Regions from separate parts of the Homo sapiens genome. Here region 2 is linked to region 1. The links are contacts of gene promoters, found by promoter capture Hi-C in human tissues and cell types (Jung and others, 2019). All regions are on one chromosome and are shown on one strand. The core of a region is centred on a gene start or on the middle of the fragment in contact, and the rest is flanking DNA. Distances in the headings are between cores, read along the strand shown.

Region 1 (2,859 bases), core at 184-2,683:
GCTGGGGGCACTTAGGGAGATTGCAGGGGAGCAGAACTGAAGGTTCTGAGGCCTTAGTCCCTGGGGTTGTTCTCCAGAGCGGATTGCAGATTGGAGGAAGTTGGAGGAACTGTAGGTTTGCCCTTCCTGGGTCAGGAAACCTGGCTTCGGGCCAGGTTCTATCTCTACCTGTTGTGTGACCTTGGATAAACGTCTTGCCCTCTCCTAGGCTCAATGTCCCTACAGGTAAATGACCTCTAAGTGCCTGCCCTAAGGGGCTAAGATTCCCCTCCTTTCCCTGCCTTGCGGTTGGCAGGTTCTTATCCTTCTGGAGAGGGTCATCATCATTCTCTGTTCAGGTCCTGGCAGGGGCAGCCACAGGCAGAGGGTCTTTGGGTCTTAATTTCTGAAGGCTTCCATGTCACATAAAACGTTGATTACATAAATTTGTTATGCTTTTCTCTTAAGCTGTCTCGTTACAGGAGTGTTGGTTGTGACTCTTATGATCTCTTATGATGGGTGAGGAATGGTATTACATCTTTAACGGTACCACAATGTGAGGCTTAAAAGTTTTTTGTTTTTTTTTTTTTGGTGATGGGAATCTCTCTCGCTCTGTGGTCCAGGCTGCAGTGCAGTAGTGCGATCTTGACTCACGGCAACCTCCACCTCCCGGGTTTAAGCAATTTTCCTGCCTCTGCCTCCTGAAATAGCTGGAACCACAGGCGAGCGCCACCACGCCTGACTAATTTTTGTATTTTTAGTAGAGACAGGGTTTCACCATATTGGCCAGGCTGGTCTTGAACTCCTGACCTCATGATCCGCCCGCCTCGGCCTCCCAAAGTGTTAGGATTACAGGAGTGAGCCAGCATGCCCAGCCCAGACTTGCCTTTGACCAGGTGCCACCACCTGCCCCCACGTGCCCCTGGCCAGGACTGAGCCCTGTACCCTGTTACACGACTACTTATTCTATGTGAAACCCCAAGCTATTCTATGTGAAACCCGCTACTACAATGGGCTAATTTTTTTGTATTTTTTTTTTTGTAGAGATGGGGTTTCACCACGTTGCCCAGGCTAGTCTTGAACCCTCCGCCCGCCTCGGCCTCCCAAGTGTTGGGATTACAGGCGTCAGCCACCGCGGCCGGCCAACAATGTGGAGATTTAAAAGGTATTTTACATATATAATCTCTGACCTATTCAATTAGTAGGGCTTTTCTTTTATGACCTTTCCCTTCCCTTTCTCCAAGTTCTTCCTCACTCCTCCCCATAGCCCTTCCTTTCGCCCCTCCCATTGCCCCCTCCTATTGGCCTCCCCTTCGCGCAGGCGCCCTCAGAGGCGCTGAGTCAGGGCGCTGTTGAGCTCGGGCAGGCCCGGATGGGGCGGGGTTAGCGCCTGCGCTCTGGACGGCTTTGGGGCAGGGCAGATTTATATCTGCGGGGGATCAGCTGACGCTCCGCATTGCAGACTGCGGAGTCAGACGGCGCTATGTACGCCCTCTTCCTCCTGGCCAGCCTCCTGGGCGCGGGTAAGCCCTGGGACCCTCATCCTGGGGAGGAGGTGCCTCGCAGCGTCCATCTGCCCCAGAATGGGCTGTGCCGGGCCTGGCCCCTCTGCTCCCCCTGCCCTAGTTGGCAAGGGGGCGCGCGCACTGCGCAGGCGCGTTCGCTGGCTTTCTCTGGCTTTCTCTGGGCGGCTGGGGGCTGCGGGGGGCGGGCTGCGAAAATGCCCCCGGGAGGACGGCCCAGGCCCTGGGCAGCATCTCCTTCGGGGCTCGAGTGGGTTCCTGCGCGGCTGGGGCCCCGAGGCCTTCCCTCAGGCTGCGCTTCCCACTGTGGGGGTGGGTGAGTCTTGTAGGGTGACCCCTTGGGCAGCTGTGTTGTGCCTGTGCTGGGCGCACGTGATCGAGGTGGGCTGGAGCCCCGTCCCGCAGGACACTTTGGCCGTTGGCTTCAGTTGCCTGTTTGTAAGGGTAGCGAAGCTGCAGGAAGCACATGTGTATCATCTATATTGACGTTTGCATATGTATTTACTCTGGATTCTAGGTGTTGACAAAACGAGTCAAACTCTGTAAAAATATTTTGAGATTTATTCTGAGGCAAATATGAGTGACCATGGCCCGTGACACAGCCCTCAGGAGGTCCTGAGAACATGTGCCTAAGGTGGTTGGGATACAGCTGGGTTTTACATATTTTCGGGAGGCACGAGACATCAATCAAATACATTTAAGAAATACGTTGGTTTGGTTCAGAAGGGCGAAACAACTCAAAGCGGCGGGGGGCTTCCAGGCCATAGGTAAATTTAAACATTTTCTAGTTGATAATTGGTTGAGTTTATCTGAAAACCTAGAATCAATAGAAAGAAAGTATTCAAGTTAAGATAAAGGATTGTGGAGACCAAGTTTTATTGTGCAGAGGAAGCTCTCAGGTAGCCGACTAAGAGAGCGAGCACGTTGTAAAATATTTCTATGGAAATGAAAGGGTGACTGGCTCTTAGTTGATTATCTCCTGGATCTGGAGAGGAAGGAAGGAAAACATAGGGGAAAGGGGATTCTCTATAGAATGTGGATTTTTCCCACAAGAGACTTTGCAGGGCAATTTCAAGGTATGGCAAGGAAATATATTTTGGGGTTAGATATTTTGATTTTTTTTTCCTTGTCTTATAAAATGTTATGCCAGAGTCAGATTGGAAAGTAAGTCACGATATATGGGGTCAAATAAAACCCATCTGATGAGAGTTTATGGTTTGTAGGGTATGATTCCTACACCCCTTAGATAGGAATTTGGGCAAGCTAAAAAAAATCGGAGCTTAATTCTCATAGGTATTGAAGGCGATATAGGGTTTTCTGGTCCAGTTATTTTGCCATGGGGTCCTCATTTCACTTG
Region 2 (2,859 bases), core at 106-2,605, 320 kb before region 1:
TCCATCTGAAGCAACAGGGGATTTCTCAGGCTGCCTAGAGAACCTGAATCAGTTATAGCTGCAGAAACTACATAATTCTGCTCATATTGTAACATGGAGGCTTACACTGGGCAGAATGGGTAATGGGTCTGCATCCCCCTAACTCCCTCAGGCAGGATTTTTTTTCCAGTTAGTATTAGTCACTGAAGAAGAAAATGTTTATATAAAAGCTTTAGTGTATAATTTAGGATTTTTCATGTTTAAGGGTAGTTGTAGGATTTGTAGTTATCTTTTGAACTGATTTAGAATGAAGATGGGATAGTTGTCTTTGGTTGTAAGGAAAATTGTAAAAAGCCCCAAGTTCTGATTGTAAAACCTACCAAGTTGGGTAGGAAAGTAAGAAAAGGAAATATTTACAAGATTCATATATTGTCCCATTTCGGTGGAGATACTAGTTTTGAACAGGTTTTTGTGTCTTATTGATTCATGCACTAGTTATTAAATGTCTACTTTATACCAGGTATATATAACATATAGGACATATTATGTGCCAACAATGGACTCTACTCTTAAGGATCCCATACTCTAGGGTGTGGGAAATAGACTTCTTCCAGAAATAGGTACCGTGTTGTGAGATAAGTGCTACTAGATAAGTGCAGTGTGTACCCAGAGGAGAAATTCTGTAGTGGTTGCAGAAGGCTTGATAAGGGAGCTGACAATTGAACAGTCTGGAAGGGACAGGAGTTTGTGCCAGGCTGGCAAATGGGGGCAGGGAGCATTCTGCGCAGAGGAAATGTCACTTGTGAGGTATTCAGGGGAGAGTGAGGAATTTGTTAAGGCTGGTACTTAGAAAGAGGTAGAGTAAGGAAGAGGTAGGAGTTAAGAGTGGAAATGACATGGCACCCAAGTTGTGAAAGCTCTTGTGTGGGTTAAGGATTTTGAATGTAATATCCTATAGAGAGTAAGAAAATAGTTAAGGCTGGGCATGGTAGCTCACACCTGTAATCTTAACACTTTGGGAGGCTGAGGTGGGAGGATCCCTTGAGTCCAGGAGTTTGAAACCAGCCTGGGCAACATAGTGAAACTCTGTGTCCACAAAAAATAAAAAAAATTAGCCAGGCATGGTGGTGTGTACCTGAGGTCCCAGCTACTTGGGAGGCTGATGTGGGAGGAGGATTGCTTGAGTCCAGAGATAGAGGTTACAGTAGCCATGATTGTGCCACTGCACTCTAGCCTGGGTGACAGAGCGAGACCCTGTCTCCAAAAGAAAGAAAGAAACAAACTAGTTAAGATTTTAAGCAAGGACTGTGATGAACTTAGCACCACAGAAAAAAAATTGAAGGCAGTGTGGAGGATGTCTTGAGAGGTAAGGAGTTGGGCACCAAGGCAGGTACCAGTTGGGAGGCTATCGATACTGTCTATTGAAAGAAGAATAGGGTTTGTGGCATATTCAGGAGGGGATATATTCCAAAGATATTTCAGAGTTCTGCTCTGAAGTGGGGATAATAATGGTATTAATGTTACAGTGTTGATATGAAGAGTAAATGAGTTAATAAGTTTAAGGTGTTTGGAGCAGAGCATGGCACATAGTGCCGAATGAATGTTATTGTTGTTATAATTGTAATTATTGCTGTACCAAGTAAGACTTGTAGTAATCCCATGGGTTACAAAATGGAGGGGAAGGAAGGAGTGGCATTAAGAAGCAGCAACAGATCTCTCTTGCGCTGTTAACCCATCAGAAACGTGAGAGGAACCAGGGTCTGTCTTTGGGAATAAATGTAAGTTGAGTAGATGCCTTGCTAACTAGTGCTTTCAAGTAACTATGGAGGAATAGTGAAGTTTTTAGAAGAGTAGGCTGAAGGATTCTTTGTGCTCATCTAAGGTAAGTGGGGTGGTGCATCCTTTAGTGAGGGGAGATGCTCTTCACTCCTCTTTAATGGGTAAAGATCTTTAGACAATGCATGAGAAGTTCTTTTCTCTGGTCAGTATAAAAGCCCATGCTTGAATGTTTGTCCACGTTTTAAGAACCTCTCCACTTTCTTGTAATTATGTATGAATAAATAGAATTTATAAGCCAGGAGAAACAAAACCCTTTTTTCTAAAGCTTATACAGCTTAACACAGTATTTCGTTAATAACACATAGTGACTTGCAAATCAAAGTCAGCTTTTCTGAACATTCTTAAAGAATAATGGAAATGACTCAGCAGAGCCTAATTTAGCTTCCAGTGCTGCTTTAAAAGGGAGAGCAAAGATGGCATTTGTCTAGTGCTGCACAGTCATGTAAAAAGGAAGAGGGGGAAGCTTGTATTTATTCCATACTACTGTGTGCCAGAGACTTCATATGTGTTTCATCTGCAGAGCAAACCTGAGACAGAAGTATTGTCTGTTTTATAGATGATGAAATTAAGCTTCATAGCAACTGAGTAACTCACCTAGGGTCATGCTGCTGATAGGTGGCAGAATTTGAACATAGGCCTGTCTGGTTGCACAGCCAAATGCTCTTTTCATCACTTTGCCTTATTTGAATAACTTCTTTAGATGAATGAACTTCATATCACCTGCCCAGAAACAGTTCTACAAGATTTGGCCATAAAAAAAGAAAGAAAATACAACGAGTATAGGGGAAGCATGCATATTTTCTCTTTTTCTTTGCATAGAATATCAGAAAGTGAATTGGTAGATCCCTCACACATAATCTATTTTGTTAGCAGATAATTATTTAGGTTTTGTGGGAACATGTAAAAAGTTTGTAGGTCCTTTGACTTACAGGTAAACCAGGCCACCTCCCTTATTTTACAGAGGAGGAAGCCGAGGCTAGAGAAGTGACATGACTTGCCTAATTACAGCTGGTTTGTGACAAAGTTAGAATTAGAACCCTA

What was found. Contacts are between HindIII fragments. The study calls those that stand out against the background at their distance.
Region 2: a fragment that was not itself captured here is called in contact with the fragment with the promoter of PSAP in region 1 in 1 of the 25 tissues and cell types used here (dorsolateral prefrontal cortex).

Annotation. Positions count from the first base shown.
Region 1 is chr10:71,849,825-71,852,683 of GRCh38, reverse strand. It overlaps PSAP (prosaposin), which reads left to right and starts at 1,433. Exons shown (of 14, transcript NM_002778.4): 1 at 1,433-1,502. The coding sequence starts at 1,463. RefSeq lists enhancers at 1,222-1,752, 1,753-2,283, 2,675-2,859. The HindIII fragment of the contact is 10,422 bases long and covers 1-2,859 here.
Region 2 is chr10:72,174,742-72,177,600 of GRCh38, reverse strand. All of the region lies in intron 5 of ASCC1 (activating signal cointegrator 1 complex subunit 1), which reads left to right. Among named protein-coding and RNA genes, the nearest start is that of ANAPC16, 40 kb to the left of the region's middle. The HindIII fragment of the contact is 4,533 bases long and covers 1-2,859 here.